Regions from separate parts of the Homo sapiens genome. Here all the other regions are linked to region 2. The links are contacts of gene promoters, found by promoter capture Hi-C in blood cells and fetal thymus (Javierre and others, 2016). All regions are on one chromosome and are shown on one strand. Each heading gives the region's core, a stretch centred on a gene start or on the middle of the fragment in contact. The rest is flanking DNA. Distances are from core to core; before and after follow the strand shown. Region 1 has its middle 110 kb from the start of CYSLTR2. Region 2 holds the start of ITM2B (integral membrane protein 2B). Region 3 has its middle 130 kb from the start of CYSLTR2.

Region 1 (3,979 bases), core at 851-3,350, 530 kb before region 2:
AATTCTACCATACATTCTTTAAAACTTATCAATCCTTCTCAAACTCTTCTAAAGAATTGAAGAGGAGGTAACACTTCCAAACTCATTATATTAGGCTAATATTACTCTGACACCGTGGACAAAGATATTAAAAACAAGAAAAGAAAATTACAGACTAACATTCTTGATGAATATCAGTGCAAAAATCCTCAAAGAAATACCGGTAAACTGAATTCAACAGCACATTAAAAGGGTCATGCACCATGACTAAGTGGCACTTATACCTGGAATGCAAGGATGGTTCACCATATAAAAATCAATCAATGAAATATACCACATTAACAAATTGAAGGACAAAATCACATTATCATCTCAATCAATTCAGAAAAAGCATTTGACAAAATTCAATGCCCTTTTATGATAATAACACTGAACAAACTAGGAAGAGAAGAAAACTACCTTCAATATATATAATAAACAATATAATAAAATCCATATATGAAAAGCCCACAGCTAACATTATACTCCCATCCAAGTACTAACCAGGCCCGACCTTTCTTAGCTTCTGAGATCAGATGAGGTCAGGCATGTTCAGGGTGGTATGGCTGTAGACCATCATACTCAATAGGAAAAGACTGAAGGCTTTTCATCTAAGATAAAGAATAAGACAAGGATACCCACTCTCACCATTACTATTCAACATAATACTGGGAGTTCTAGTCAGAGCAATTAGACAAAAATTAAATTAAACTGAAGGCATACAAATTGGAAGGAAGAAGTCACATGATCTATTCACAGATGATATAATTTTATCTGTAGAAATCCCAAAAGATTCCACCAAAAAACTGCTAGGGCTAATAAACGATTTCAAGAAAGTGGCAGGATACAAAGCTGATGCACAAAAATCAGTTGCATTTCTAGATACATTTTTAAATAACTTAAATGAATTATGAAAACAATTCACTTATAATAGCACCAAATAGATGCTTCTTTCATGGGGCTGTCTTTCAACAGGTTAGATAGAGGAGTAGCACCCTGGGGAGGATAACAGAAATGTCAGAGTTCATAAAAGTTCAAGATCTTTTGCATGGCTTCTTTCTCTTGTGTGCTTATACCATTGCAGTTTCAGATTATAGTTGACTTCATAGAGAAAGAAGTTATATAAAAATCCATGTGATTCACAATTCTATCATTTTCCTTTAACCTGATTTTATTTGGAAATTTGGCCAAAGTATTTATTGCCTGAATTATTATTGTGTGTATTGAGAGCTCAGCATGCAGCCCAACCCTTTTCTATGATAGCAAGGGGAGGGTAGAAAGCTAAAACTGACATTTCCAGACTTCCTTGTAGTTAGGCTTCTGGATATGGGTTAGAGTCTGCCAATCAGATATGCTCATGGTAGAATGAGGTTTGAAACTGAACCAGGAAGAAGAGAGGGAGAAAAGGAGGAAGGAAGCATTCATTTTGCATTACAAATAAGGCTCAAATTCCCTTTGCCCACTCCCTGCAATCCTGGTCCATTTCCTACCCCAACAATGAAGGTAACCACTGCTATTAGATTGGTCTGTATCCTTCCATTCTCTTTCCATCAATTTTGCAAATATACATATATGCATATATGCTAATGTTTTAAGATGTGGATTTTGTGTAGTATTTTATTGTATCATACTACCATCTGCTACCTCTACAGCAACATTATGTCTTTGAGAACTTGACAGGTATGCATTATTCCATAGCATGGATACAGTATCACTTTTTAAAGTGATTTTCCTTTGGAAGGACATAAACCTAAAAATTGTTTCCAGTTTTCTGCTATCACAAACAATTTTGTACACATGTGCAAGAATTTTTCTTGAGCTAACACTAAGAAGTAGAATTTTTGAGTTGTAGGGTATGCACATTTAAATTTTCATAGATGCTGACAATGTATTTTAAAAGGGCTGTCACAGTTAACACCCCCACTATTTTTACTGTCTTTTGGTGTTAGTAGAGAAGCTTAAATTTTGGTGTCAGTCTAAGACTGCAAGAGTCATTTACAAGCAGTGGGACTAAGAGAAGTCATTTAACCTCCCTAAACCCCTGCTTCTTTATACTCAAAATGAGGATAAGTGTCTATGTCATGGAGTTCTTGCAGGGAATCGAGCTGAGGCCAGTAATACTTAGCACAGTCCCTGGCATATAGTAAGTGCTGATGAAAGGTGACTCCTACTCCTCCTCACCTTCCTTCTCTAAGATCTAAGCTTATCTATAAATGGGGCTATTCTATTATAATCTTTGCTAGGTTGAGATCACTTTGTTATTATTACTGTAGGATGTTTCTCCTTTTGAGAGGTACTGACACATCCTGGGCTGCATTTCTAAACTGGTCCTCTGAAAGAAACTTACCATGACATGGATTCCTATGTAATGAAACCACTTAATACTTTTAATTTAATGATGACACTGAATATGTGCATGGGCCATACTCAAATTTTTCCTGAAAGAACCACTTCCCTGTGCACTTAAGGATACTTACACTCTTCAAAAGTTTTGCATATGAGAGACTAAAATTAAGTTAATATCTTCAGAATGGCAATTTCCAAATGAAGTGATTTGTGCTCGTTAGCATGTTCTATTTAAGGCAAATGAATATATTGTTCTTTTTTACAGGAAGCTTTTAAGGTAACTCAGCTTACCGTGGAGTGGAGAGAGAATGTGATTGGGAGTCAAAGAGATCCAGGTTTGACTTTCAGCCCTGTCTCTTATTACCTAAGGGTCTTATTAAGATCCTTACTACTTCTGAGTCCCAATAATCATATTTATATTTATCTTGGAAGGTTGTTGAGAAGATTTAATGAGATAATATGTGCAAGTGCTGGACACATGGGGCATCCTTAAGAAATGCTGATTCCTGTCTATCCCCCCAGTGTTATTTACATAGGCTTCTGAATTCACCATCTATTGATTGAGTACAAGCTATGTGTCATCAGGAACTTCTATAGGCTGTGAGAGAGGGACAAATAAGAGAGACAGTCTCACCTTAAGGGGTTTTTAGTCTAGTGAGAAAGCTAGGCCATGGCTAAGTGACCTCAAGAGAACAATAAACACAATAACATTATGTCCAGGGCTCTCATCTCCCGATATGAGAAGTCAGAGGAACCTTCACAGAAGTATCTCTTGAGCTGGACCTTGAAGGATGAGGATGAGTTCACCAGGCAGGGAAGAAGAGCAGGTGGAAAAGCAAAGATAGAAAGAGCTGGGAGTGTTCTAACACTGGTGAGCATTAATCTTTCATCTCTAAAATATTTGGCCCGACATTCTTACAGTCTCTCCTGTGGCTGACATCTCCTGTGGTTCAAATGGACATTGGACTCACTAAAGAAGGGCACTGGACTCACTAAAGAAATCAAGAATTATTAATGTTCATTGCAGACTGGAACTTGGAACGCTGTAAATAACCCCAGCTCTACAAATCTGTCTGGAAAATGCTTAGTTCATGTTTGCTCTTTGTTACTTTTTCAAGGGAGTACTGAGGAAATCACAATTGTGGTTTCTGGCTGGAAATAGGTCCTATCTGTCACTATTGATCCTAAACAATTTGTCTCTCTGGAATCAGATTAAAATAGGTCCTATCTGTCACTATTGACCCTAAACGATTTGTCTCTCCGGAATCAGATTATTTAACCTCATTTCTAAAAGTTGTACTCAGGTGCTGGGTTAGGTGGATACTGCTAATAACAGCAGATGATCAATGATTCTTCCAGCAAACAGAGGAGTAAGTCACCTAGTGGGCAGAAAAGCCTGTTCCTCTGTGCCCATTTAATAAAAAAAATTATCCAGAGCACAAATTAATTTGTCATTAAAAGTGGCCATTCTCAGATATAGTTCTTACATCTTTTGTACTATTTTATAAACTATAGGCATCTGCCAGCAGCTGCTGGAACAGGAAAGTTTATATCCAGGCAGAGGGAAAAAAACATGGTAGAAAATGAGCAGGCTGAAACCAATATGAAGAAATGC
Region 2 (4,236 bases), core at 77-2,576:
ACGTGGCACACCAATTTTTTTAAGTTAAAACTAAATTTACCCTACTGATAATAGGTCTTGAAAAATGCTAACAACAACAAAAAATAAGATAAGCAACATAACTTTACAGTTAATTTCTAATTTTTGCAGCCTAAAAAGGGTCTGGGTAAGAGGCTGTGGGCTTTTTTAACTTATGAGACAATTACACTCATATTTAAGTAAATATGATCGTAACCTACTAAAAGTCAACACAGTAACAGCCCCACTTCATGAATTTTCCTAGGATTAAAGGGAGATTTTGTAAAATAAAGGAGAATTTTATTAGGGACCCGGGGGCAAATTTCTCATGTTTAGTTTCACGCAGCAGGAGTCCTCACAAAGACGCTGATACAATTTAAATGCCAACAATTGGTTTTTCACTAACATCCACATAGTCATTACTGGCCTTTACTAGTAATGGTAAGAGACAGCCCAAACCTACTTCGGGCGGACTGTCCCTTCGTCCCCTCTCCAGGTGAAGTTCACCTGCCACTACCGAAGGGCCGTGGAAAAAGGAGGTAAAGAAACGCTTTTAAAATTAAGACGCTTACAGTTGCTGGACTTAGTCCAAGTGCTGTTCAAGCCTAGAAACGAAAGTGGGAAACAACAGAGGTTTAGGCTTGTAATGATGTCAGCCATTTTAGGTACATTATTTATACTGGGAAGGAAGTGCCAAACTCGGTTGTTGTTGTTGTGCCTGTCGCTGCCGGTCCCCAGATCGAACAAGCCAAGTCCTGGCTGCACGCACGCTCCCCGGACTGCACAAACGACCGGGAATTCGGCACAATTAGCCAATCGTTCCCTCTCCAGGCCTCCCAAGCCCCCGACCCCGCGTCAGGCACCGCTTCCAGCACACGCACTTCCTTACAAAGGAGCTGCGGACCCACAGGAAACGGGAGCGCCGGGCTCTCTCGGGGACTTGTCCCCGCGGCGCGAGCCCCGCGCCCGCCACCTCGGGGCGCACTGCCGCTGCAGTCCGCGCAGCCCTCCCCGGCCGGGCCCAGCACCCGCTTCCTCGACCTCCCCGGGCTCGGACCTTGCAGTCCACCGCGACGGCGTCGGGGGGGATGATGAGCGCCTCCTCGCCGCTCTTGGGCTCGTCCTTCTTGGCCTCCTTCTGGGCCAGAGCGGAGTTGAACGTCACCTTCACCATGGCGCGGCCTGGGGCGCCCTCGAAGGGCGGCGGCGGGCTCGGGGCGCGGGCTGCGGGCTCCCGGCTGCGATTGCAGCCTCTACGGCCGGGCTCCGGGAGCGGCTCCGGGCGGCTGAAGAGGTTCGGGAAGCTCCGCGGCGGCAGAGGCGGCTACTGCGGTAGGGATCTCGCAGCCTCCCAGCTCCCGCGCGAGGGCGGAGACTGCTCGCACATCCCCTGGGAGGCGGGGCGGGGGCGGGGGCGGGGCCAGCGGCCGGGGGTGGGGTGCTGCGCGGGACCCTGCCCTCGCCCCGCAGCTGGGCGCCGGATCCCGGCGCGCCTCGGAGAGGGATGGGTGTCCCTCTGGGCCGCCTGGAATTTCCAGTTCTGAATTCGCTCCCAACCAGGTTACCTCCAGGCCGAGTGCTGCAGGTTTGTAGCGAAATCGAGTGAACTTTCCTGAGTTCGCCGGGTACAAGGGACTAACCTTTGGCAGCACCAGACCGCCGCTTCCCTGTACCCTGTCCCCACCGCGAGCCTAAAGGCCATGGAATTTTTGTGCATCCACATCTTCATTTTCTCACTTATTAGGTAACCGACTCAGTGGAGCACAAACATGTTTAAAGCTCTCTGTCCTTGAGATCTGACTTTATCTTTCACGGACCTCACCCAAGGGCGTTTACCTGGCTCAGACCTGCCTGGTCTTCCTTCCCTCTCTCAGGAGGTCAGGGCCTGTTCTGCCTAGTCCCAGACCAATGTGGAGGAAGCTCTTGGCAGATTTGTATTTCAAACATCTCACACTCGTAAAACGAAATGTTCCACTCTTGTGCGTACTTGGAAAAAAACCACATGCACACTTGGCTGATTTGTGACTCAAAGTACTCGATGACGAGTCCCTTTATTTTTCTGCAAAATGAAAAAATAATTAAGGATAACGCAAAATTCTCATGTTTTGAAGACGTTTCATTTACAACTAATGCGAGGTAGAATACTGGCTCCCGTCGTTACTGCGTTCATTACTGTGTCAACAGACGGCCCCCTTGGACAAATGTGTTATCTTGTATCCTTCCACCCCATTCTGTCCTGGTTCATCCAGAGTTGTGGGTGTGCTCTAGAATGTTACAGCTGTGTCAGCTCTGCCTTGGGCCAACCCTGAAAAAAGTGGGTTCAGTCTGAGATCTTTGGGGATTTGGCCCTGCTCAAGGAGGGAGTTGGGTATTTCCATAGAATGTCAGATCATAAGTCCCAGGGAAACAGCCCAAGATCTCCAAATCCTTCTGTTCATGTATTTCAGAAGCATCCTGGGCTGAGATAGAAACCCAGGCCAGACTTTGAGTTTGCTTTGGGTATTCAGAAATTCCTGTCAAAATGAAATCTGCTCAACCAAGAGGAGGATGAGTTAGGTTCCAGTTCTGGTGAGTTTTAACAGTAGCTAACCATACTTGCAGCAACTTATTTAAACTCCTGGGTCGCCCTTGTGCAGGCATCGGCTCTGTGAGGTTGACTCTATGGACTGGACTTTCATAGTATCTAATGTTATCTAATTCCTCAAAGTCAACGACTGCTTCCAGCTCCCTAGTTTAATAGGTTCCCTGAGACATTACAGTTGAAGACTAAGTATTTCTGGAAGCAAGATCTGGAGGATTATAAATAATTATATGTACATCCTTCCTACTTCGTTCTGTGTTAAAATAAGATGGTAGAAAAATACTCAAGGCATTTTGCAGTAGATGATAGAGAAGAATCTGGCTGTCATTATACTCCGGGGGGAAAAAAGGAATTACAGAAGAAAATAAAACAAAATTCTTCGTGAACAACACTACTGAACAGACTAGGAAGCTGAGGCAAAGGATGAACAAATGAGGTTGACAAAACTAGAAATCCTCCCCGCCCCAGGATTTCTATTTTGAAAGACTCATGAATAAAAGACCATTCATTATTTTGTGTACTTGCAGTGAGCAACAGTTTAAAATCAGTTGGCAACCGGTCTGGGAATAATCTCCTGGTTTTTTTTCTCCATTTTATCTCATGTGTCTACAGAACTGTGTAGTGCACAACAGCAGGGATAATAAAGACGCTGGAGCAAGACCAAACATAGCAAATCCAGTCTTGTGATTTAGAAAAGGTTGCCCGTTGACCCTGAAAACTTAGGAGCCAGGGAGGAGGAGAGTCCATGACTCAACAAAAGAAAGTTAAAAACATAGTTATAAGTTACTATTAACTACCAAATGTAAAGGGAGTCTTAGAGGACCTTTGTTTTCCTTTTTGACGTTGAGTTTGAGAGAGCAAGATGAATCTGATTCCAGCTCTGCATATCACCAGCAACCATGTTTGTTTTTATGCTTACCAAAGGAGGGAGGAAAAAATGGAAGTGGGGAACTGAATTCTAAAATATTTTAATAGATTTGCATTATGTGCTTCAACAGGGATTTTTTTTTTCTTTTTAGGTTCTTTACATCTCTATTCTGTCTGTTCTTTCTCAAGGAAACAATTCCTTATTCAGAGAAATTTCTTGTGGTTTTACAGAATGATTGGAAAACTTTATTTTATTTTATTTTTCACAAGTATAGGGTCCTTGGTGAAACAACGTCACTGAATAAGCCCTTTGAAATGTGCTCCTGTTGCCTCTTCTCTTAACCCAATGTGTGAGTTTAGCTGGTCATCTTGTGGCTTTGTCTGAACTTTCATAAAAGAAGTGTTTCTTCTAGGTGAGAGCTTTGAAGGCTTTGACTGACCTCTTCAGAGACTTAAGCACTGTTTATTTTTCTTACCGACTTCCTATTTCAATATTATATATGCTTTTCAATTATTTTAATTTATTTTATATAAATTATTTTCATGTAATTTTAAAATAATTTATCATTATTTTCCTTGAACTAGCAGATGCATTTTTTTTTCTTTTTCAAATCTTGGGCTCTATAATATCCCGAGACCCTTTAGGAATTATCCTAATAACAAATGCAGATCTCTTTTGATTTGACTGGCTGTGGCACTTGGGATTTTTGTTTTGCTTTGTGAAAAGACTGGATATGCTCTGCACTGATGAAAGAGAGGGAGAAGCTGGGTGAGGTGGCTCATGCCTGTAA
Region 3 (3,760 bases), core at 653-3,152, 550 kb before region 2:
AGTGTGCTTTGAGAAAGACCTCCCAGGGCATCAGGAGATGCCCTGATCCTCACTATAGTAATCTGAGAGTAGAGATGGATGCTTCAGACATCACAGACCACTGTCATTGGCTATTGTTATCCTCTTGCCTTTTTTCTTTTTTTTTTTTATTTGAGACAGAGTCTCGCTCTGTCGCCCAGGCTGGAGTGCAGTGGCGCGATGTCTGCTCACTGCAAGCTCCCCTCCCGGGTTCACGCCATTCTCCTGCCTCAGCCTCCTGAGTAGCTGGGACTGCAGGCGCCCGCCACCACGCCCGGCTAATTTTTTTGTATTTTTTTTTTTTTTTAGCAGAGTCGGGGTTTCACCGTGTTAGCCAGATGGTCTCCATCTCCTGACCTCGTGATCCGCCCGCCTCGGCCTTCCAAAGTGCTGGGATTACAGGCGTGAGCCACCGCGCCCGGCCTCCTCTTGCTCTTTTGTTATTGGCTATTGTTATCCTTGCTGCTTACTGTAGTGGACATTTACATTTATTTTGGCTGTCTAGGATCTGAAACCCCTTTCTAGGGGTGAGTTGGAGAAATTCATCTATTTGATGAAGGTATCTTTCCCTGAAGAGCTGAAAATACCAGACACCCACTTTTCCAGCCTCCCTTACAGCTAGGGACCAGGTATATGACCTAGGCTCAGCAGACCAGATGCATCTATGACTCATGAGCATCACAGGGAACTCTCTTTGGGGACAGAGCAGCAGTAGTATTTTCAGAAAAATCAAGTTTTTCAGGCAGCAGTGGCATGACGAGTGACAGCATGTCATAGAGAGGGACAGCAGTGTGGAGGGTACAAGTGCCAGCATCTAGTGCTCAGCAGTGTTGCCCATGTGAACTCACAGGGCCCCCTCTGAAGTGTGATTTGGGGTATTGTTCTTGCCTGAGTAGTCCTGAACGTTGTTTTCCAGCCCTCATGATAAGTTGGAGAGTTGCCAAATAACTTTTTTTCTTTTTTCATTTTTTTTTAGTAGTAGAGGCGGGGTTTCACCGTGTTAGTCAGGATGGTCTCAATCTCCTGACCTCGTGATCCGCCCTCCTCGGCCTCCCAAAGTGTTGGGATTACAGGCGTGAGCCACCATGCCCGGCCGCCAAATAACTTTTTAATAAACTATTTCTTTGCTCCAATTAGCTAGAGTTGGATTATGTTGCTTGCAATCAAGAACTCTGAATGGTATGAAAATCAGCGCTAGGAATGGGAGGCTTGTTTCCCATGGTCTGGACACTTACAAAGAGAAACTAACAAGTTCCAATTCCTGATCTTCAGTCCATGCTTTAAGCCAGTAATTTAGAACCGAAAAAAATAAAAAAAATAAAAACAAAAAGAATAAACCAACAAACCAAATCAATGAACAAACAAAAGCCCTCAAAATTTGACACCAAAGGGTTTTTGAATTATAACATGAGTTGAAGTCACAGTTTTGCCAGGTTTCTTGTATGAGAATTCAGGCATTGTTTGGGAAAGACTGGAACCCTGAAATCTGGAATGAAGGAATGTTGGAGCACACTGTAAAAAAGTGAATATGTTCCCCCATATTTAGAGTACACTCCACAGCAAAACCCCACTGGCACTCTCTTGTCAGTGGAAGCAGGCTGTCTTTACAGTCTTATGAGGCTATGGTTATTTTGCTTGAAACTTTAAAATGACCTTATCTAAGCTAATTACCTGGAAAGGGTTGACCAATTCTCCTCAAACCCCATCTTCCCTCCTTCTCATTATTTTTACACTTCAAACCAGGGTCAGAACCCAGCGTGACCGGGAATCCAATTACAAAGTCAAACCCAGAAGGAAAAGACTTCATAACTAAACAATTGCAAAAGGTTACCAGTTTATATCAGCAAATATTTTGAATACTTGTGGAAATAGATGTGGAGGTACTAAACCAAAGAGTAAAGAATATAACTTTAGATCAAGCTGCATTGATCCATGCATTTCATTTGGCAGAAACACTGGGTTCAATCTACCGGTTAAACAACAAACACACAGCCACAAAAAGCCAGACAGAGGAAAGGGGAGAGAGAGAGAGAGAGAGAGAGAGAGAGAGAGAGAGAGAGAGAGAGAGAATCTTCCTTTTCTTATAAGGCCACAGTTCTGCAACATTAGGACTCTATTTTTAGGACCTCACTTAACCTTAATAATCTGCTAAAGACTCTATCTCCAAATAAAATCACACTGGGGGTTAGGGCTTTAACATATGAATTTTGGGGGAACACAATTCAATCCATAGTATTTGGTAAAATTAACAACATAAATTCCATCATTATGGACCTGAAAAGATATACAGTCAGCCCTCTATATCTGTGGATTCTGTATCCATGGATTCAACTGGCCACAAATAAAAAATATTTGAGAAAAAATTGCATCTGTACCAAACATGTACAGATGTTTTTTCTTGTCATTATTCTCTAAACAATACAGTATGACAACTATTTACATGGCACTTATATTGTATTAGGTATCATAAGTAATCTAGAGATGATTTAAAGTATATGGGAGGATGTGTATATGTTGTATGCAAATACTATGCCATTTGCCTATATCAGGGACTTGAACATTCATGGATTTTGGTATCTGTGGGAGGTTCTGGAACCAATCCCTCACAGATACCAAGGGATGACTGTACTTTCACATACCTTTTTGACATTTTGGCCAGTATTAAAAATGAACAGGCTTTGGATAATGACAGAAAGTTATTGTAACCTCAATCAGGGAGTGATTCCAATTGCAATTACTCTTGTAGATATGGTCTCTTTACTGAGACATGTATAGACATCTCATGGCATGTGGTGGTATGTAGCTATTGATCTCTACCCCCAAAAGCAGAAAACACCAGAGGTAATCTGCTTTTACTTAGTGGGAAGACAGCATACCTTCACGGTATTGCCTCTGGGTTACATCAATTTTCTGACCTTGTGCCACAAGTTAGTTTGCAGGGAACTTGATTATCTCATCATCTCATAGAAAAGCATGGTGTCCCATGACATAGATGAGATAGACGTCGGGGGAGCAAAAAGTTGCTGTAACCCAATATGTGTTGCTATGTTGGAGGATGCCAGCTGTTAGGAGATAAAACCTATAAAACATTAGGCTTGATACCTCAGAGAAGTTTTTTGAGGCTAAGTAGTCTGAGGCACATTGGGATAACCTTCAAAGTCAAAGACTAGTTGCTACATCTTGTAACTACTACCAATGGGACAAAAGAAACTACTTGGTGAAAATGTTTGAATTTTATAGTAAACATATACCATGTTTGGGTATTCTGCTTCTACCTATTACTAGTTGAAAGATAAGCACTTTGAGTGGAACCTGGAACAAGAGAATTGTCACTGGTCAAGGATGTAATGGCAGAGTAACAGTGCCCAAAGTATTTGTGACAGATTATGATGTCCATTGAGGCCTGTAGAAAGTTGCAGTGGTGTTTTTACAGGGGATTCCCCTAAGGTTTTGAAGCAAGTAAAGGAGCAATTCACCTTTGAAAAATATCTCTTGGCTTGCTAGTAGGCCCTCTTAGAGACTGACGGTGGGACCCCCAAGTAAGCATCCGGACTGAGTTTTTGGGGTAATTATGCATTATCTGCTCATTCTAGCTGTGAAACAAAGAACAGGAAGCTGACCTAACTTGTGCATGTCATCAGCCCCTTTTTCAGCCATCCTAAATTTTGTTCAGTGGGCTCATAAACATAGTGGTTGGGGGTGGGGGTGCACTCCCATATTCCAGTAAGGATAAAGGGAAGCC

What was found. The method cuts DNA at HindIII sites, captures the fragments that hold promoters and counts their contacts. A CHiCAGO score of 5 or more calls a contact.
Region 1: a fragment that was not itself captured here is called in contact with the fragment with the promoter of ITM2B in region 2 in 2 of 17 cell types (fetal thymus and non-activated CD4 T cells); the score reaches 5.4 in fetal thymus.
Region 3: a fragment that was not itself captured here is called in contact with the fragment with the promoter of ITM2B in region 2 in 1 of 17 cell types (neutrophils); the score reaches 6.8 in neutrophils.

The regions. Positions count from the first base shown.
Region 1 is chr13:48,761,505-48,765,483 of GRCh38, reverse strand. No RefSeq gene overlaps it. Among named protein-coding and RNA genes, the nearest start is that of CYSLTR2, 110 kb to the right of the region's middle. The HindIII fragment of the contact is 245 bases long and covers 1,978-2,222 here.
Region 2 is chr13:48,230,296-48,234,531 of GRCh38, reverse strand. It overlaps ITM2B (integral membrane protein 2B), which reads right to left and starts at 1,326. Exons shown (of 6, transcript NM_021999.5): 1 at 1,055-1,326. The coding sequence starts at 1,171. RefSeq lists an enhancer at 118-815 and silencers at 871-1,080, 1,091-1,450. The HindIII fragment of the contact is 15,181 bases long and covers 1-4,236 here.
Region 3 is chr13:48,784,271-48,788,030 of GRCh38, reverse strand. No RefSeq gene overlaps it. Among named protein-coding and RNA genes, the nearest start is that of CYSLTR2, 130 kb to the right of the region's middle. The HindIII fragment of the contact is 7,537 bases long and covers 1-3,760 here.